Regions from separate parts of the Homo sapiens genome. Here regions 2, 3, 4, 5, 6 and 7 are each linked to region 1. The links are contacts of gene promoters, found by promoter capture Hi-C in blood cells and fetal thymus (Javierre and others, 2016). All regions are on one chromosome and are shown on one strand. Each heading gives the region's core, a stretch centred on a gene start or on the middle of the fragment in contact. The rest is flanking DNA. Distances are from core to core; before and after follow the strand shown.

Evidence for each region. Contacts are between HindIII fragments. The CHiCAGO score rates a contact against its expected background, and 5 or more counts as called.
Region 2: a contact is called between a fragment that was not itself captured here and the fragment with the promoter of ADGB in region 1, in 2 of 17 cell types (M1 macrophages and M0 macrophages). The highest score is 5.7, in M1 macrophages.
Region 3: a fragment that was not itself captured here is called in contact with the fragment with the promoter of ADGB in region 1 in 1 of 17 cell types (monocytes); the score reaches 6.7 in monocytes.
Region 4: a contact is called between a fragment that was not itself captured here and the fragment with the promoter of ADGB in region 1, in 1 of 17 cell types (M0 macrophages). The highest score is 5.3, in M0 macrophages.
Region 5: a contact is called between a fragment that was not itself captured here and the fragment with the promoter of ADGB in region 1, in 1 of 17 cell types (M0 macrophages). The highest score is 6.3, in M0 macrophages.
Region 6: a contact is called between a fragment that was not itself captured here and the fragment with the promoter of ADGB in region 1, in 4 of 17 cell types (megakaryocytes, M0 macrophages, M1 macrophages and 1 more). The highest score is 9.1, in megakaryocytes.
Region 7: a fragment that was not itself captured here is called in contact with the fragment with the promoter of ADGB in region 1 in 2 of 17 cell types (monocytes and endothelial precursors); the score reaches 8.9 in monocytes.

Annotation. Positions count from the first base shown.
Region 1 is chr6:146,597,572-146,600,386 of GRCh38, reverse strand. It overlaps ADGB (androglobin), which reads right to left and starts at 1,415. Exons shown (of 36, transcript NM_024694.4): 1 at 1,273-1,415. The coding sequence starts at 1,346. ADGB-DT (ADGB divergent transcript) reads left to right here and starts at 1,456. Exons shown (of 3, transcript NR_125860.1): 1 at 1,456-1,554; 2 at 2,216-2,317. RefSeq lists a silencer at 1,320-1,614. The HindIII fragment of the contact is 3,644 bases long and covers 1-2,815 here.
Region 2 is chr6:145,835,761-145,838,575 of GRCh38, reverse strand. The region is part of intron 2 of EPM2A-DT (EPM2A divergent transcript); the gene reads right to left. Among named protein-coding and RNA genes, the nearest start is that of FBXO30, 22 kb to the right of the region's middle. The HindIII fragment of the contact is 992 bases long and covers 932-1,923 here.
Region 3 is chr6:145,893,439-145,896,253 of GRCh38, reverse strand. SHPRH (SNF2 histone linker PHD RING helicase) reads left to right here. Exons shown (of 30, transcript NM_001042683.3): 26 at 1,277-1,369; 27 at 2,018-2,104. Among named protein-coding and RNA genes, the nearest start is that of SHPRH, 70 kb to the left of the region's middle. The HindIII fragment of the contact is 3,992 bases long and covers 1-2,815 here.
Region 4 is chr6:145,914,297-145,917,111 of GRCh38, reverse strand. All of the region lies in intron 23 of SHPRH (SNF2 histone linker PHD RING helicase), which reads left to right. It overlaps LOC124901420 (a long non-coding RNA gene), which reads right to left and starts at 1,625. Exons shown (of 2, transcript XR_007059801.1): 1 at 1,401-1,625; 2 at 1-308. The HindIII fragment of the contact is 548 bases long and covers 1,195-1,742 here.
Region 5 is chr6:145,935,417-145,938,231 of GRCh38, reverse strand. It overlaps SHPRH (SNF2 histone linker PHD RING helicase), which reads left to right. Exons shown (of 30, transcript NM_001042683.3): 12 at 2,791-2,815. Among named protein-coding and RNA genes, the nearest start is that of SHPRH, 28 kb to the left of the region's middle. The HindIII fragment of the contact is 2,608 bases long and covers 122-2,729 here.
Region 6 is chr6:145,953,833-145,956,647 of GRCh38, reverse strand. SHPRH (SNF2 histone linker PHD RING helicase) reads left to right here. Exons shown (of 30, transcript NM_001042683.3): 2 at 1,294-1,958. The coding sequence starts at 1,326. Among named protein-coding and RNA genes, the nearest start is that of SHPRH, 9.1 kb to the left of the region's middle. The HindIII fragment of the contact is 1,516 bases long and covers 577-2,092 here.
Region 7 is chr6:145,971,869-145,974,683 of GRCh38, reverse strand. No RefSeq gene overlaps it. Among named protein-coding and RNA genes, the nearest start is that of SHPRH, 8.9 kb to the right of the region's middle. The HindIII fragment of the contact is 1,359 bases long and covers 655-2,013 here.

The DNA.
Region 1 (2,815 bases), core at 166-2,665:
AACTTTAGAGAAGTAATACAGGCCTGATTCTGAAGGGCGTCCTCGGCCTTGGACCTAGAGGAATGGAAGCCATTAGACAACGCTGAAAAGACCTGACTTTGGTACACAGAAGTAAAGCAATCCTATTAAAATTACATATGTAATATTTATATAAAATTATATATGTAATATTACTTATATATGTAATATCTAAAATTTAAGCTAGTAAAAGGAATGGATTATCTGCCGGGTAACTGGAAACCTGCTTATGAGAGAGGTTAGAACTAAGGGACTAGAGATTCACAGACATGGGAATGAGTCTGGGAGAAGAATTCACAAAGAAAAAGAGTTTAAATCCTAGGGATCAGTGAATCATAGGGATCAGTCCAATGTGGAATTCTTCAGCCAGGGAAGGAAATGGAGAAACAGGCATCAAGGATGTAAGAATTCAATTTGAAATGATTGATTGCATCGCCCTCCCCATCAGGCAGAGCATGAAGAACATGAATGATCCCACTGAAGCAGGGCGGGCAGCTGGGATTCTCTCACAGTGGGAATGAACATTAGAAATGGTGTAAGTTCAAACAGCCCCAATCCTATGCTGTGGATAACTGGATATCCCTAGGGAAACAGACCACAGAAAATAATAATCATGGGGAAGTACATCCTAAGACACAACACCTAACACCAGCCCAGGACAAAGGCACCATAAAAATTCCATGAGCGAGGGTCTGTTTACTTTCTCAGAGTAAATGTTAGTAACATGAACTATACATTTATAATGTTTTAAGGTTTAGAAGCCACTTTACGTCTGACTATATCTGATTAAAGATCGTAGTCGTTGGACTGGGCAGATGCAAACTAGAAAATCACCATTAAGGTGAAATGTGTCCATGTCTGTCTGTCACTCGCTGTCTGTATCATTTCCGGGGCCATGAAGATGTGGCTTTAACCAGAAGTATTTGAGATATGCCTCTTTCTTAGGAAAGCTATGGCCTTTCTAACTGCCTGAGAGGGCTATGAAGAAGAGGAGGGGTGGCAGATTCACCCATGGGAGCTGAACACCCAAAGCAAGAAAATCAGGGGCTCTGGGAAAGGAAGTGAGTCAAGACAAGCAAGAGAGAAGGATGAGAGCGAGCACCTCCAGGATCTGGTTTACCAGAGAAGACAAGCTGCGAGGAGGCCACTAAACTTCTGCCCTGGCACAGTTTGCTGCAGGGAGGCAGCCCCAGAACTAGTGGTGAGGTCGAGGGGCTAGGCCAGGGGAGGGACGGACAGGCAGAGGTCCCTTACTCTTTCGATTTATCCGATCCGTGCGCCGAGTTGATACGATGCACCTCTTTCTTTTTGGTTTGTTTGGAGGCCATGGCAGAAGCCGATCTATGTAGGGCTGAGCTCTGAGCAAAGAGCCTGCGGGCGCGCTCGGCTCCGCGTCTGCGTTGCCAGGAGACGGCGTCCCGCGTCCAGCGCCCGGAGAGCGGGGGCGGGGCCCTGGGGGCGGGCTCTGCGGCCTGTGGCTGCAGAGGGACGCAAGAGCATAAACTGAAATCCCACATCCCCGTGGAGGAACTTGGAGTTGGTGTCTGGGGAGAAATCGAGGTTCTGGGGCACGGGTTTGGCATTAGGATTACTGGGCAGCCCTGATTAATTGGAGTTCTGCAGGACCTACACTGCCTGGCTTTGCCCTTCGGAACCATAGACATATATCGACTCTTGAATATCCAACTATTTGAACGTAGATGTTATCCTAGTACCACCCCAGTTATTCTCTTGGCTAAATATAACAAGTACCTTCAATAATTACTAAGGAGACATTACAGACACGCTGAAATTGTCAATGGCTTGAAAACCTGGGGTCCAGAAATTAACACAGTGGGTGTAAGGAAGGCAAAATAATGACACCTTGAGTCGCTGAGGGCTAGGTGATGATATCTGTAATAAAACCAATAAGGTGTCTTGTTGTTCGAATGAAAGAGTGAGTCCAAGTCATGGGCTCAGGTGGTCCTTTGCAGACTTTCCAGAAAAGGTCCAGGGGCCAGATGACACAGACAGAACCAAGTAAAATGAAACTTATTAGGGCGCAGGCTTAAGGCTCAGTCATCAGTGGTGATTTGTTAGTTATCTTGCCTTGGGCTAGTTTTTCCCTTTGAGTCTCAGTTTACTCACTTATAAATAGGAGATGCCTATTACTCACTTATAAATAGGAGTTATACCTAACTCACAGTTCTGTTTTGAGGATAAGATGCAAAGCGCAGCAAATAGGAGCCACTCTTTCAGAGATGACAGACCACCTGGTTTCGAGGAGCAGCAGACAGCGTGAATGAATGAAGTTGGCCAGGTAAATACAGAGTAGTGGATACTATGCTTAACTGAGACATGCTTAGACTGCAAGAGCTTGCAAATTTATCAAAACAAAACAAAATATTGTGTTGGTTCAATATAACCTCACTTCAGAGATATCTGACACACAGCCCTTAGGCCTAGGACCACTACTACTGGTTGGTGTCTTTCATGAGCCTAGAAATAGTTAAGTATCTTTAAATAAAAGAAATCCCCTCCACTCATGGGACTGGGCACATGCTCACAGTTCCACCTGTGCAGGCAAGAGGCAGCTTCCTGCAGAGAAAATCTTTCAACTTCTCTGACAAATGAATGCTCAGGGCTCTCCACTCAGCATAGCCTATGGTTTGTCAGACTATCCCAATCTTATTACTATTGGATTACTACTGGGGGTTACCTAGATGACAGACAGCCCCTTCGTTGTATTTCTATATGCAAAATAAATAAATTCCAAGTCAGCAGTGTTAATATTATGACTACAAGACTGCCCTGCAAA
Region 2 (2,815 bases), core at 178-2,677, 760 kb after region 1:
ATGCAGGTGGTGTTGTGGGTTAAGTGTTTTTCCCCATCCAAAATTCATGTTGTAACTTGATCTTCAATGCAACAGTATTAAGAGTTGAGACCTTTAGGAGGTCCCTGAGTCATGAGGGCTCTGCCCTCCTTCATGGAATTTGGTTCTCTTTTAAAAGGGCTTGACAGAGGAAATTTGCCCTTTTCCCTCCTTTAGTCCCTTCCCTGATATGAGAACACAGCACTCCTCCCCTTTGGAGTACATGACAGTGAAGTGCCATCTTGGAGGCAAACAGCAGCCCTCACTAGACAGCAATCCTGCCAGAGCCATGATCTTGGACTTCTTAGCCTCCATAACTATTTTTTTAAAAAAGTATCTGTTCTTTCCAATTACCCAGTCTGTGGTATTTTGCTACAAGAACGCAAATGGACAAAGATGGTGGGTAAACAAGTGTAGGTGTCATAAAAACCAAGACACAAAGGGGGGTCAAGTCTTCCTCAGAGAGTAGGTTAATGACAGTCCAAATCATTAAGAAAGATATAAATTCTCCCAGTGTCTACTGCATGTCTAGCAGTAGATATAGCCTTCCCTGAGTCTGATGTTGCCCTTAGCTGTGAACACTTTGACTCAAGTTGAAGAAGTTTTTACCTTGTGGTTTTCCTTCATAGCTGGCAGGCAATGGGCTACATGGACTATGGAGTCTGAAAGACAGGGTGCCTCTCACAAAGCCTGACCAGAAGGGAGAATAGGAGGCAGCCAATGTAGAACTGGTGCCTGAAGGGTGATCTGTAGGGAGCCGGAGCACTTTGTCCAACAACTATCAAATACAAGACCTACCACCCTCACACTCTTGGCTCAGTCATTCTTCATCTGAGGGTTGCTAAAATAGTGTAGGCCTTTATTGCATTTATTATTTATACACTGATGCCTACTCCCAAGAATAATGTAAGCTTACTTGAAGTCACACATACAACATAACCAATGAAAGAATACAATAATGTTTTTAAATAATTAAGGAGGTAATAAGTAGGTAGTTTAATCTAGTTTTATGCAACTGAGCATTAAATTTAGCTCTATTTTTACTGATAGTCAAAGGGAAAAAGAAAGAAGATGAGGGAGAACAGGATGAGTTCACATGCTTTTATCAACATAAAAAGAAAACGAGCAATTTAGAAACGTCTTTATTCTTCTAGGACAAAATTCTAAGAGGGAGTATAGTGTAAGGATATTTCTGTAAAGAGGATTAGGTAATTAATAATAGTACAAAGGATGAAGATACATAAATACAGCTTGTGGGTGTTGGGGAGGGTATGAATTCTGAATAAAAGCTGAAGGCAAATTGTTAAAGTTTTTGAAAGGTCTTTCTATAGTGAGCCAATAAAGTGACAATAACTCCCACTATTATATGTTGATGCCGTATTAGGGCTTTACATATTTTTTCCCTAACAATGTTGGGAGGTACATATTACTGTTCTTCTAGAAGTTTCCTAGGGGAACTGTGAGAGATTGAGGATCTTGGTCATGTAAAGCTAAGACATGAATCTGGATCTTCATGGTCTAAAGTCACATTCTTTCCATTCTACTCATCCAGACATGTAGATTTCTATTGATTTGGTATGGAGATAGAGTAAAACAATGTGGAAAATGCTAGTTATCATGTTCCCGTATCTCCAGAAACCACTGTCCAAGTCCAACTTTTGACACAATCAAGAGAGCAAAACACTTGAGTTTGAGTTAACTGAAAAATGCTTGCAATATTAGTATTTTCCAAAACAAACTTCAGATGTTTTATATACCATATCATTAAGAGGAAAAACTGGTTTTCTTTCAAATGAAAATTAGAGCCAGATACAGACTTCCCAAGTTGACGAGTAAATTATATCCTTGCACAAAAGTAGACTGGGGCTGATGAGGATTAGGGCCAAAATTTTTCACAATAAAGCTTGAAAGCAGCATCTATCATTAAGGACTCCTGCTTGAAAGTGATAGAAACTCAATTTGAACCCATATTGAGAAAGAGGAATTTGTTATCTCCCAAAATCTAAAGAAGCAGTGAATATCCAAACCATGTGAAAGAAAGCACTGAGTTGGGTCTCAGGAACTGAATGTGTCAGGAACTTGAATGATGCCAGGTTTCTCTTTCATTTACTTTCTCTCTCTCACTTACATTCTTTCTCTCTCTCTTCCCCGCCTCCCCTCTGTGCCAACTTTGTCTCACACTGAGTCAGTCTTTCTCTTCATGGCAGGAAATATGATCACTGACAGTTCCTAAGTTTTACATCTCAATTCCATCACAGGACAAGATTGCCTAACACACACCACACCAACTCCCCAACAAACAACAAAAACAACCCAAGGAATGCCCGTGATTTGAATGGCTTGGTTTGGTTACCCATCCTTAGAGTCCTCAACATTTCTAGGAGGCAGAGTTGCAGTGGAAGGAGGAGTAGTTTCCAGAAGAATGAGTTGCTTTTTTTTCAGAAGGAGGCAGGGGTGGTTAGTAGACAAATAATAAATATTCTTCCCAAGATTGTCTTGTCTCAGTGGCTTTTAAAAGTGCAGACTAACAACTGTCAGATTCTTCTATACAATAGAATATGTTTTGTTTAATTGATGGATTAAACTTTATTTATCAATACTTTATCTTATTTCAAAAGAGATTTAAGATCTTGGGCAACATAAAATATAGCAATAAGCTACAAATAAAATATGCCAATAAATCATAAACTACAAATTCTATGAGAATAAATAAGGAAAAACAAACATGGGGGCAAAAACTAGAAGTGGAAATGAGTTAAATGAAAGATGCAATCATACTGTCGTTTTGAGCCATAAA
Region 3 (2,815 bases), core at 88-2,587, 700 kb after region 1:
TGTAGTACATTTCTAATCTTGCAAGTACACTTGAAAGTCTACATACCCAGAGAAAATAAGTGTAGAATCATGATTTTAGCATGAGGATTTTAAAACTTTTTCCATTATTCTATCTTGCTGGCTTAAAATTAGTACAGCTTTCTTTCTTGTTTTGTTTATATTTTTACCTTTGAATGTTTCTTCATGTAAAAGTGTGTTGAGAGGATTGAGGGAGAGGGTTTATGCTGCTGTGGAAATATTTTTCCTTCTTTTTGGTTAAATCTGCTCCCCCTTGTGGTATAATCTAGGTCATTATAGTGCTCATATTTAATATCTCAGAAAGATAATAAGTTCTTGAGTGTTTACTCCTTACCAGATGTTAGGCTAAATGCTTCGTATACATTTTCTCATTCAATCATCACAGCCACCTTTGGAAAGAGATATAATTATCATTCAGCCCTATTGGATAGATGAGGAAACACAGGATTAGAAACTATAACTAGTGAGTTGTAGAACTATGAGTTGAACTTAAATTTGTCTCATTCAAAATCCCATAACCTTAATTTCTCTGTCATACCATCTCCAAGAGCACTCCAGAAGGAAAACTTTCTCATTGAGGGCTACAGAAATACTTGCACTATTTTCCTCATTTTCTTATTTCTCCATTTTAAAAATCATTTTTTCACTTTCATCCTCATCTGATAGAAATGGTTATGGAAGATGCAAAAAAAAAAAAACACACAGTTTTAAGTGTCTAGCTTTGTATGAATCTGCCTCATTCTAAGTGAGCATCATTTGTACCTCTGTCATTGTTTTTGGTAATACCCTTGCAAGAAAACATTCTCCATTGGTTGGATCCTTCACTGTTTGCTTACATTGGGAGTTTTGATTCATTGTATTCTTAACATTTCTAATGACATAATATCTGAAGAAAGGGAGAATAAATGAAGAGTGTTTTAAAATATCATTTCTGCTAATCTAATGTAACAAAATTTTGTAACTATAAAACCTGACTACTTAACTAAAAGATCCTATGTTCAGGGTCATAGCACTTAATGACTTTCTGGCATGCTTTTACATTCAAATGTCTGGGTGTAAATTTAATGACTTCTACATTTCGAGGCTAAAGAAAATTTCCAGCAAACACAAAATGAAAAAGAGTAAACACATATGCACCTGATAATTTGTTTTGATGCATTTATAGTTTTGATAATAAAAAGTACTTTGTATTGCTTTTCTATTCTGTTCTTAACTAGATTTTTTAGTAGTAATGTGTATTTTGTGTGTGTGTTCAAAGGGCAGCCATTCTACAAAAGTGGAAGCTGTGGTCAGAACTCTGATGAAAATACAGCTTAGAGATCCAGGGGCCAAAGCACTCGTTTTCTCAACGGTATAATCAACATTTTCATCCTCAATATTAATTCGAACTGATTTTCCCTCTCTAATCAGTTTACAGCTGAGAACTAATTTTTGATGTTTACTCTTAGATTTTTTTTCCCAAATCCATAAGATAGAATTATTTTTAGAGAAGATAGAATTATTTTTAGAGAAATGTGATGATGTTTCACAAGGCAATTTGTATAGCTATATTTCATGACTTTTTATTAGTTTCATTTAAGGATTTTCTTAGTTTAATATTTTTAAAATTGGAATTTCTGACTTTGAAAGTCTCATTTCACAAAAATTTGGGTTGAAAAAGACAATCTACTTTATAAAGTGTTGAGTAAAACCCTTAGTTTTCATTTTCGAAAACTAAGTAACTATATTCCAGTATGCACTCCATTATGTATTTTCTACTGTTTGTTTATCTTAATTACATTTTCAAAACCAGCATTTGATGCAAAAAAAAAAAAACAAACAAAATTACTATTTCAGATAGAGCTAAATAATATGGATGGTACTACATTTGAGGGTTTTGGTTTTGGTTTTATTTTCTTAACTCCAGTATAAAAGTCATTTTGATTTATTTCCTTTTCAGATACCCTTAGATAAAGGCTACGTGTAAATATTGGTTTTCTTATTGTTTTATGTGTTCTAGTGGCAAGATGTATTAGATATTATTTCAAAAGCTCTTACTGACAACAACATGGAATTTGCACAAATCAGTCGTGTTAAGACATTTCAGGTATGTTAAGATTTTACTCCGGTTTTTGTAGTGGATACAGTTGCAAATTTAAACTGCTGTTAACTAGCTTACTTACATTTATTGTCTCATGCCATATAAGCCACATAAACAGGGTCTGAGTTCTTGATTAATTATAAAGTGAACATTTAAAAGCAGAGACTGCAGGTATTTTCAGTATATAACAAGACCATTGGTTTTTTAAAGATCTCCCAACTTGAGGTTCTTTTTTTTTTTTAGTACAGGAAAAGATTGCCTATGATATACCTTTTGAATGGACAGGGGCCTCACACCCCAAGGATTAGTTTCTAAAGTCACTGTCAGGCAGAACTGCATGTGGTCACAGTTATCCTTACATCATGCTCAGCACAGTGACAGGCGTATGACCTCAGGCACACACAGAGACCAAATGAAAATTTAGCAGATTCATGTCTCTTATCTCACATTCACTCTAGCACATTCTTTTTCTCTTTTTCCTCTAACCTCATGTAGTTTAATTTGCATGCATTACATGCATCTGTCTTGTGATTCCTCTAGATATTACGAAGAACAAGAGAGCTTATATGATACTTTTCTTCATAATTAAAATCAAGCGACAAGTTTACATTTTCTAAAGTTGGTAATTTTGCATTTAAGTTTCTTAGCTGTTACCTTTCACAATAGTAATAGATAGCATTAGACATCTTTAAAGTGAGCTATTACATACTGCTCTTA
Region 4 (2,815 bases), core at 219-2,718, 680 kb after region 1:
AAGAAAAAAATTAAAAAGTTTCATGCAAATTGCTAACATTAAGAAGATAACACAGGCTGGGCATGGTGGCTCACGCCTGTAATCCCAGCACTTTGAGAGGCCGAGGAGTTTGAGACCAGCCTGGCCAACATGGTGAAACCCTGTCTCTACTAAAGATACAAAAAATTAGCTGGAATGGTAGCACACGCCTGTAATCCAGTTCCCAGGAGGCTGAGGCAGGAGAATCGCTTGAACCTGGGAGACAGAGGTTGCAGTGAGCTGAGATTGCGCCATTGCACTCCAGCCTAGGCGACAGAGCGAGATTCCATCTCAAAAAAAAAAGATAACAGGAAAAATGTCTCAACATTCCTGAACATAAGTTTTTTAAATGTAAGATTTCTATACTTTAAATATGATAGTCAAAATAAAAAGACAGTTATCTTGTACGTCATTGTTTATATGTTAAAATATTTTTTAAAACCTAAAATTTTAAGGATATAAATATTCTACCTAAGAAAATCCAATTTGGCTGTTAATAAAAGAAAAAGCATTTAATCTATAATGATGGAAAATCAAATTACACAGGTGCTATTTTCTGCCAACAATTAGGCACAGATTTTTTAAATGATTACACACCCCAGTGGTGAAAAAGGACAGGGAATGGATACATTTTATGCATTACCAATGGAAATATAAATTTATATAAGCTTTTCTTAAAAGCACTTTAACAATATCTGTCAACAATTTTATGTAGGTTGAACATCTCAAATCCAAAACTGGAAATGCTCCAGTGAGCATTTCCTGTGAGCATTGCATCAGCACTCAAAAAGTTTATGATTTTAGAGCGTTTTAGATTACAGATTTTTGGATTTGGAATGCTCAACCTGTATGTGAAAGAAAGGAAAAGGAAAACTGGACAACATAAGATGAACTGGAATCTATACAGTAGGATTAAATGAACATTATAGAACTGCAGAAATACAGTATCTGAAATCAAAAACTCATTGGAGACCAGACACAGAAAAAGATGGGATTCATGAACTCAAGTACAGTACAAATGAAAATACCCAATTTGAAGTGGCATAGATAGAAAAAGAACAAAATAGGGCAAAAGAGATTTGAGACACAGTTGTTTGATCTAGCATACTTGTAATTTCATAGATCTAGCATACTTGTAATTGAAGTTCAAGAAGAAAAGAGAATAGGACAGAAGCTTGAAGAGATAATAGCTGAGAATTTTCTAAAACTCATAAAATTATGACAAATATCTTAAAGATTCAAGAAGTTCAGAAACACTAAGCAGAATAAGTAAAGAAAAAAACAAAATACTGCCTAGATACATCATAGTCAAACTGCTGGAAACCAAAAATAATGAAAAATAGAAATAAAAAAAGTTGAGAGATAAAACATTTAATACTTACAAAGGAACACTAATAAAACTGGTGGCTACATAGAGATGTTTTTCTTTTCACCTTTAAAGATGTTTCGGTATTTTCCATAGTTTCTCTATGTAACCAGTTGACATTGGAACATCTTCAAAATGCTAAAAGAAAAAAACAGCCAACCTAGAGTTCTATACTTAAAGAAAATTTCCTTTTTTTAAAAAAAGTGAAATAAGGATATTTTCAGACAAACATAAACTGGAAGAATTCATCTCCAGTAAACACACATCACAATAAATATTAAAGGAACTTCTTTGGATGGAAGGAAAATTATTTCAGATTGAAGGATGCAACTACAGTAAGGAATGAAGAACAAAAGCTTAAATATGTAGATAAATATGCAAGGATATTGACTATTTAAAAGCAACAATGCTGTCTTATGGGTTATACAACTTATATAGAACTAAAATATATGTCAGTAGCACAAAGGAAAGAGGTAAGCAGAGGATTATTAAGATTTAATTTAATTTATTTAAATTTATTAAAATTTATTTTATTATAATTGTATTATAATATTTATATTTATAATTATATATTTATAATTCTGCCAAAATATATTTATAATTATATTTTATTATAAATTTATTTATAAGTTTATTAAAATTTATAAAATTTATTAAAATAATGTAATTATTTTAAGATAATTTAATCTATTTTAAGATTCCTTCAGAGGAATGGACAAGAAAGTCCGTAAGGATATTGAACATTTGAACACTAATGAACAAATATGACCCAACTGACACAGACCATTACACCCAACAGCTTCAGAATACATATTTTTTAGGTGTACGTGGAACATTTATCAAAATAGACCTTATGCTAATTCAAAAAGCCGCTCTTAAAAGTATGTGAGAGTATGTTTTCTGACTGAAGAGGAATTTAAACCAGAAATCAGTAATGGAAAGATAACTGGATAAATCCCTAAAAGTTTAATAGAAATTGACAGGATACTTCTGAATAACCCATGGGTCAAAGAAGAAGTCAAAATGGAAATTAGAAAATACTCTGAACTGAGTGAAAGTAAAAATATGTGACAGTGCTTAGAGGAAAATTTATAACTTCTTTAACTTAAGGATCTGCAAATTACCATGCATGGGAAAAATTCAGCCCGCTGCCTTTTTTCGTAAGTAAAGTTTTATTGGAATATGGTCACACTCATTCATTTACGTATTGTCTGTGGCTGCATTCATGCCACATTAGTGGAATTGAGTTGTTACAACACAGATCATATGGCCCACAAGGCCTAAAATATTTATAATCTCACCATTTATATAAATGTCAACTCTTTATTGACATATTGGAAAAGAAGAGCTGTTGTGAATTATGATAGATTGTTTACAAAGTGCTACAGCAATGACCCTCCCATTCTTGTTGCTCTTTGGAACTCCATGAGA
Region 5 (2,815 bases), core at 176-2,675, 660 kb after region 1:
GAGATAACTAACCCGCTCCTGCAATAATGACAATTAATCCACTCATGAGGGTTCCACCCTCATGACTGAGTCACATATAATTAGGCCCCACCTCCTAATATTATTCACTGGAGTTTAAGCTTCTAACACGTGAACTTTTGGGGGATACATTCAAACCATAGCAGATGATGAGCAAAAGTACATACGATCCCTTATCTATTGAGCTTACAGCTTAGAGGAGAACATACATTTCTTAAAATGTTTCTTAAATACTTAGATAAATATTAAATTGCAATTGAGATAACTTTCACAAATGAAAAAAAGGAAAATTCTAACTATAACAGGTTTCATTAAAAAAATAGTTTGTTCTATAACATCATACAATTGGGATGCTGACAACTGAGCTGTGATCTGAAACATTAACATGAGCTAGGTAAAGAGGAAAAGGAAAAATCCTCTATTGTAGAGGAAACAGAAAATATTAATGTAAATAGATCATGTGGCAGAAATAGCGTGGCTAGAATGTAAAGAGCTAGGGAGATGATGGTGGATAGAGAGACTAGGTAGGTAGAGATGGGACCATGGAGGATGTTATTTGCCTTGTTAAAGAATTTTATTTTTTTTCTTAAGAGTAGTAGGAGCTATTGAAACGATTTAAACACAGTGGTTGGGGGTCATTTTGTGGTTAGATTTGTATTTCAAAAGATCACTCTAGTTGCAGTGTGGAGAGTGGCTTAGAAGAGGGTAAGAGTGGATGTTAGGATATTAATTGATTGTCTATAAGAAGTAATCTAGGCAAGTGGTGCTGGCACTTTTGATTTGGACTAGGTTTGTCCTAAAGATAACAGAAAAAAGTGGATAAGGCAAAATTAACAAGCCTCAGTGACAGATCAGGAGATACCAAGATTTCTGACTTGCATAAATCCATGAATGGTGACTGGTTTCCCCAGTGAATACTACCAGAAAAGAAGCATGGGCCAGTGGCTCACACTTCTAATCCCAGCACTTTGGGAGGCTGAGGCGGGTGGATCATCTGAGGTCAGGAGTTTGAGACCAGCCTGGCCAACATGATGAAGCCTCGTCTCTACTAAAAATACAAAAATTAGCTGGACATGGTGGCAGACGCCTGTAATCCCAGCTAGTCGGGAGGCTGAGGCAGGAGAATCGCTTGAACCTGGGAGGCAGAAGTTGCAGTGAGCTGAGATTGCACCGTTGCCCTCCAGCCTGGGCGACAGAGCAAGACTCTGTCTCAAAAAAAAAAAAAAAAAAAAAAAGATGAAGCATGTGTGCAAAAAGATTATGAATTTGAGATTTCGGCAAGTTGAGTTTGAGACGGCTTTGGGACCTCAAAAAAGAGGTAACATATAGCAATTGAATTGATTTGAGCTAAAAATATAAATCTGTGGACCTTTGCATAGCAGTGATGCATTGGTTCTTTCAGATGTTGCTAACTCCCAGCAACCATCAAGGTAACTTAATTCAATCTAAATATTTGTTGATCATCTTCAGAATAAGTGTTGTAGGTGTGGGAAGGATATTTTTATTATTATTTTATGGCTTCTGAAGAGAATATATGCCCATTGTGAAAAAATTTGAACTGTACATAAAAGTATAAAGAAAATTACAACCCGGACATGGTGGCTCACACCTGTAATCCCAGCACTTTGGGAGGCTGAGGTGGGAGGATCACTTGAGCCCAGGAGTTCAAGATCAGCCTGGGCAACATAGGGAAGCCCTGTCTCTACAGAAAATAAAAAAATTAGCCAGGCATGGTGGCACACACCTATGATCTCAGCTACTTGGGAGGCTGAGGTAGGATCACTTGAGCCCAGGAAGTTGAGGCTGCAGTGAGCTAAGATGGTGCCACTGCACTCGAGCCTGGGCAACAGCAAGACCTTGTCTCAAAAAAACAAAAAGAAAATTACAAAATTACACTCATAGTCTTCATTTGAAGATCTTTTCTATATAGATGTTTATATATTTGAGCTTATTCTGCATGCACAATTTTATATTCCTTTTTTTTTTTCCACTTCATATCCAAAGCAGTTTTTCATTAAGTCCTCACAAATAAATATATGGAAAACTGTTTAGGGTATGTTAAGTGGGCAGGTGGAGGGGAATAGAATATAAAATTGACTGTGCCCAGTAAAGAGATAAACAAGAAGTCCCATGCTCTAAAGCTAACAAATACAAGGCATGCTGAATCAGAAAAGAAAAATAGTTCTATTTTGTGGGATTACTATAATTTATTTATTTGAGTCATTTTTCTACATATTGTTGCTATGAATATCACTGTGTAAGTAAATCTTATCTATATTTTTATTACTCTCTTAGGCTTCTTTTCTAGGAGAATTATTAGATAAAGGGTATGAGAAATATTGCATCAGAGAATATTCTTCATGTCATCTGTGTGCTTAGAAATTCTTTTTTCCAATCCAGCAAATCTTGCATCTATTGGTTTCAGAGCATGGTATTTCTTATATATGTCTTACCAAGTACATTCAGTTGAGTGGTTTTTTGGTTTAACTTCTGATAACAGTTTCAGATTTTTGAATTAAGTATAAGCTGTATGTAATGAATGGTTGCATAAATCTAACATTATTTTAGCACCTAGCCCAAAACCTAGGGCAGAATAGATGCTCAATAAGTATAAATGGAATTGGAATTGAATTTCAGATTTAAGAGCCTATACAGCCTGTATTTTAATTCATGGAAAGTTCTATGTGCTGTGTAATGTCTGTAGAAAAGCTTCTGCAAACTAGTAATGAAGTAATAGAGTTATCCTCAATGTATTTTATTTTTTCTTTTCAGATCTTTTTGGGTTAGTGGTCTTTCT
Region 6 (2,815 bases), core at 85-2,584, 640 kb after region 1:
TATTTATACACATATTTTTTGTTTTTGCTTTTTATTTCCTTGTGTGTGGATCCAGATTTCCATCTGATGTCATATTTCTTCTACCCAAGCGCTTCTTACATTACTTAGATTGTAGGTATACAGGTGATAAGTCCTTTTGGCTTTTGTTGATCTTTTTTTCACCTTCATTTTTGAAAGATATTTTGCTGGGTTTAGAGCTGTGGGGTGGGAGCAGTGTCTAAACCAGAGAAATAGGGCCAATCTGGAGAGAAGTCCTCACTTTTCAGTAATTTAATTATGGCATACCTTATTGTGATTGTTCTTTATGTTTGCCCTGATTGGGTTTCATTGAGCTTCTTGGTTTTCTGAGTTGATGGTTTTTATAGAAGTTGGAAAATTTTCATGCATGATTTTTTCAAAAAGTTTTTTGTATCCTTTCCATTCTTTGCTGCTGAGATTCCAGTTTTATGCATGTTTGACTCCTTAACATTGTCTAGTAGGTTTCTGATGTTCTATTTATTGTTTTTTCAGTCTTTGTTTATCTCTACTTCATTTTTGACAGTTTCTGTTGTTACTGTTGTTTCCATTGTTTAAGCTTATTCTGCTTCTTTTTTTCTTTGCCATTTCTAATCTGCTGGTAATCTCATACAATGTGTTTTTCGTTTTAGATGTTGCATTTCCATCTGCATAAATTCTATAGGAGTCACTTGTATATCTATCATTTTTCTTTGTCATATTCATGTTTTCCTCTACCTTTAACATATTGAGAATATTTACAGTAGCTGTTTGAATGTTTGTTTCTGCTAATTATATCATCTGTGTCTTTTCTGGGGCTTTTTGATTTTTTTCTTGTAATGGGTCTTATTTTTCTGTTTTATTTTCATTTTTTTTGCGTGCCTGATAATTTTAGATTTGATGCCAGACATTTGTGTTGGATTTTGTTTCGCTCTTTTAAGTATTGTTGGGCTTTGTTCTGAGGGGCAGTTAAATTACTTGGGATTGAGAGATTTACCTTCCTATTATATTGCTTATTAAATGTATTTCTACAATTTATTTTATTTTATACAACAAATTGCCTTTACTATTAAAGACTAGCAAAACCATTAGAATTTATTTGATAAATGAGATTATGGTTAATATGTTCATTCCTTAGTCATAATGACCTGGTAAAAAAATTACTCATTGCCTTATATCTCACAGAAGATTTCATATTATGTTTATGGGCTATGAATTTATGCTGAATTTCTCATCTGGTAACCCTTAAATACTAAATCATCTCTTGTTATACCTCCTGTTGTTTCATTTGTCCTCTAGAGTTCACAGTTACCAGCCAAGAAAACTTGAAAATGAGCAGCCGACGGAAACGTGCTCCTCCAGTGAGGGTAGATGAGGAAAAGAGGCAGCAGCTTCATTGGAATATGCATGAGGACAGAAGGAATGAACCTATCATCATAAGTGATGATGACGAGCAGCCCTGCCCAGGTTCAGATACCTCTTCTGCTCATTATATCATTCTAAGTGATAGTCTAAAGGAAGAAGTGGCTCACAGAGATAAGAAGAGGTGTTCAAAAGTGGTGAGCTTCTCAAAACCAATTGAAAAAGAAGAGACTGTTGGTATTTTTTCCCCTTTGTCTGTAAAGTTAAATATTGTGATTTCTCCCTATCATTTTGATAATTCCTGGAAAGCATTTCTAGGAGAATTAACTCTTCAGCTTCTTCCTGCACAGAGTTTAATTGAAAATTTTTCCGAAAGGAGTATTACATTGATGAGTTCAGAGTCAAGCAATCAGTTCCTGATTTATGTTCATTCAAAAGGTGAAGATGTAGAGAAACAAAAAAAAGAACCGATGAGTATTTGTGACAAGGGTATTCTGGTGGAGTCATCCTTCAGTGGTGAAATGTTAGAAGATTTGGGGTGGCTACAAAAGAAGAGAAGAATAAAACTCTATCAGAAACCAGAAGGAAATCACATTATCAAGGTACTCAGTTTTTTGTGGTGTCTTTTTTGAGGCTCTTCTACATTGGCAGTCCAATTTTAAATTAACTTGTGAGAGAAGTCTGAAAAGCCAGCAATAAGCCTTTCATTGTTAAGTTTCAAAGTACACTTTAAGCTTTTAATAACTATTCAAAGTATGTTACAACTAATCATTTTCAGGCTACACTTTTTCAAGATCTTCCATCTCTACTTTCAGTGACTTGTTTTGGTCCTCATCATCAGTTCCTCTTACTGCAGCAGTCATTTAACCATTTATCTGTTTGCTATTTTGCCTTTTCAAATGCTTCGATTTTGTCTCTGGAATTGTATGATTGAATGCAAATGAAATTCTACCCATTACTGCCTACAGAATTAAGTATAATCTTTCTAATCTGGCACACAAGTTCCTCCCTTGACAAGCCCTTGAGCCTTACCCTTTATTACTCTGCTTTTTATTTTGTCCCAGAAACTCCAAATTGATTTATTTTCTCCATATACCACACTGACTTTCTGCGTCTTTGCTTTTGTTCTTATAGTTCCTTCTGCTTGAGTTGTTCCCTTCCCCTTCCCTGGTAATTCCTGGTTATTCTTTAATATTTAGTATAGCATTTAATTCACCCAGGGAGATCGTTTCTTAAATCTATTGGTAGTATTATGTGCCCTCTCCTCAGAATCTCTGGTAGATTTTTTTTTTTGGCCTTGGCGGCTTGTCACATACTTAACATTTTAGATCATTCCCCTCTGCTAAACTATGAAGCCTTTCATCTTTACAGCCTAGTAAAGTACCTGGTACCTAAATTTTCAGTAGATGAATGAATAAATTTGTAATTTATTTCAGTCTCTGTCATTCACTGGCCAAAT
Region 7 (2,815 bases), core at 85-2,584, 630 kb after region 1:
AGGAAATACTCAATACTCACCCCATGTATTGCAGAATATATAACCACTGTGATAAAATTTGTCTTTATGATTTTCCCCATTAAATTTCAGTGTCTTGGACAAGGGTCTGATTCTGTATCCTTTTTCTTTTTCTTTCTTTCTTTCTTTTTTTTTTTTTTTTTTTTTTTGAGACGGAGTCTCCCTCTATTGTCCAGGCTGGAGTGCAGTGGCCCAATCTCGGCTCACTGCAACCTCCACCTCCTGGGTTCAAGTGATTCTCCTGCCTCAGCCTCCCGAGTAGCTGGGACTACAGGTGCGCACCACCATGCCCAGCTAGGTTTTTTTGTATTTTTAGTAGAGACAGGGTTTCACCATATTGGCTAGGCTGGTCTCAAACTCCTGAGCTCATGATCTGCCTTCCTCAGCCTCCCAAAGTGCTGGGATTACAAGCGTGAGCCACTGCACCCGGCCTCTGTATGCTTTTTCTATTTGTAAGCGAAAAAAAAGAGCCCTAAATGATGTGAATCCAAAGGAAACTCCTTTGGTCTGTACTTCTGCAACTCACCTTTACTTCATGAACTCACAACTATTATATTTACAGTACCCCACAGGAAAGGAGGGAAATAATTGAGGCACCCAAATCTCTTTATTATCATTTGGGAAAATTAGAAAGCTTTACGTTGTCTGACCCATCCAGAAAAGTGATTCCCATCAGCACAACACAACTGGTGAATTGTTTTCCTTGTCAATTCATTCTGTTTGAACCCATTGGACAATTACATTTTAATTTGTCTTCTTAGCTACATTCTTCTCCTTCTGGACAAGAGAAATATCATTTCAAAAAATCAGTACTGTCAAAAAATAGAGAACCATATTATATAGCTAGAGAAGACTTCATTAAAATAACAATTACTCAAAAGGCTGAGTAATTCAGAGGTCTCCAAATTTTAAGGTAATTCAATAGTATTTGGGAACATGAAGAATATCTAAAAATACTCATTTCTGAAATATTTATTTTTCAAAAAAGGCATCTTCAGTCCCAACTTCTTTGAAATCATGTTTTAAGACACTTCAGGCATTTTAATCAATGCTGAAAATTTTCTCAAAACATTATTTAGGATATATTTTCCAATTAGGAGTTTTGTTTCATGTACTTAAGATACGGTTGTTAACACCTGTATTTGTGGAGGTTTTTTTCTATTTATTTTCATGACACTTTTGGTATGTTAAAGGTATGAAACAGATTTCCAGGAATGAAGTCCCAGTTTATAACACTGTGGCTACAAGAAATAAGGGTTTGATTTACATAAGCTCAGTTTTTTAGCCAACCAGGAATCAATTAGTTCATAAGCTGGAGATTATCTGCTCAAGTGGTTCCCAAACATCTGTCTCTGTATTGGTTTCACTGGAGTTACCTGAGATGGTTGGATGGTTTGGTTAATTTTTTAAAAATGAACTCCCAGGAGCTCATAGTCAACATGGGGGTGTTATGGCATAAGAACATAATTAGGCCGGGTGCAGTGGCTCACGCCTATAATCCCAGCACTTTGGGAGGCCCAGGCAGGCAGATCACTTGAGGTTGGGAGTTCGAGACCAGCCTGGCCAACATAGCAAAACCCTGTCTCTGCTAAAAGATATAAAAATTAGCCAGGTGTGGTGGTACGCACCTGCAAGCCCAGCTATTCAGGAGGCTGAGGCAAGAGAATCGCTTGAAACCAGGGGGCGGAGGTTGCTGTGACCTGAGATTGCGCCACTGCACTCCAGCCTGGGAGACAGAGTGAGACCCCATCCTAAAAAACAAATGAACAAACAGACAAAATAACATAATTAGTAATTATATACTATTATTGTGTGGTATTTAAAAATATTTAAGAATTTAAATTTATTTAAAGGCCTAATGAGGAGTTCAGAAATTTAACAGGGCTTAAAGGAAATGGAATTCAGATCTAATTTTGTCATTGTCCCAAGGTGACCTAAACAACACACAAATGTGGAAGTCAGAGCATGGCGCTGCCCTGCTAGTGGACGGAAGCTTTGGAAAGGTTCTTCATTTTCTGGCAAGCATCATTTTATGTTAAGATTATTATGAGTAAGATTTCTGGCAGAGACACAACAAAAAAAGAGAATTTTAGACCAATATCCCTGTTGAACATCGATGCAAATATCCTCAATAAAATACTGGCAAACTGAATCGGGCAGCACATCAAAAAGCTTATCCACCATGATCACATGGGCTTCATCCCTGGGATGCAAGGCTGGTTCAACATATGCAAATCAATAAATGTAATCGAGCATATAAACAGAACCAACGACAAAAATCACATGATTATCTCAATAGATGCAGAAAAGGCCTTTAACAAAATTCAACAACTCTTCATGCTAAAAACTCTCAATAAATTAGGTATTGATGGGACGTATCTCAAAATAATAAGAGTTATCTATGACCAGCCCACAGCCAGTATCATACTGAATGGGCAAAAACTGGAAGCATTCCCTTTGAAAACTGGCACAAGACAGGGGTGCCCTCTCTCACCACTCCTATTCAACGTAGAGTTGGAAGTTCTGGCCAGGGCAATCAGGCAGGAGAAGGAAATAAAGGGTATTCAATTAGGAAAAGAGGAAGTCAAATTGTCCCTGTTTGCTGACGACATGATTCTATATCTAGAAAACCCCATCGTCTCAGCCCAAAATCTCCTTAAGCTGACAGGCAAATTCAGCAAAGTCTCAGGATACAAAATCAATGTGCAAAAATCACAAGCATTCTTATACACCAATAACATACAAACAGAGAGCCAAATCATGAGTGAACTCCAATTCACGATTGCTTCAAAGAGAA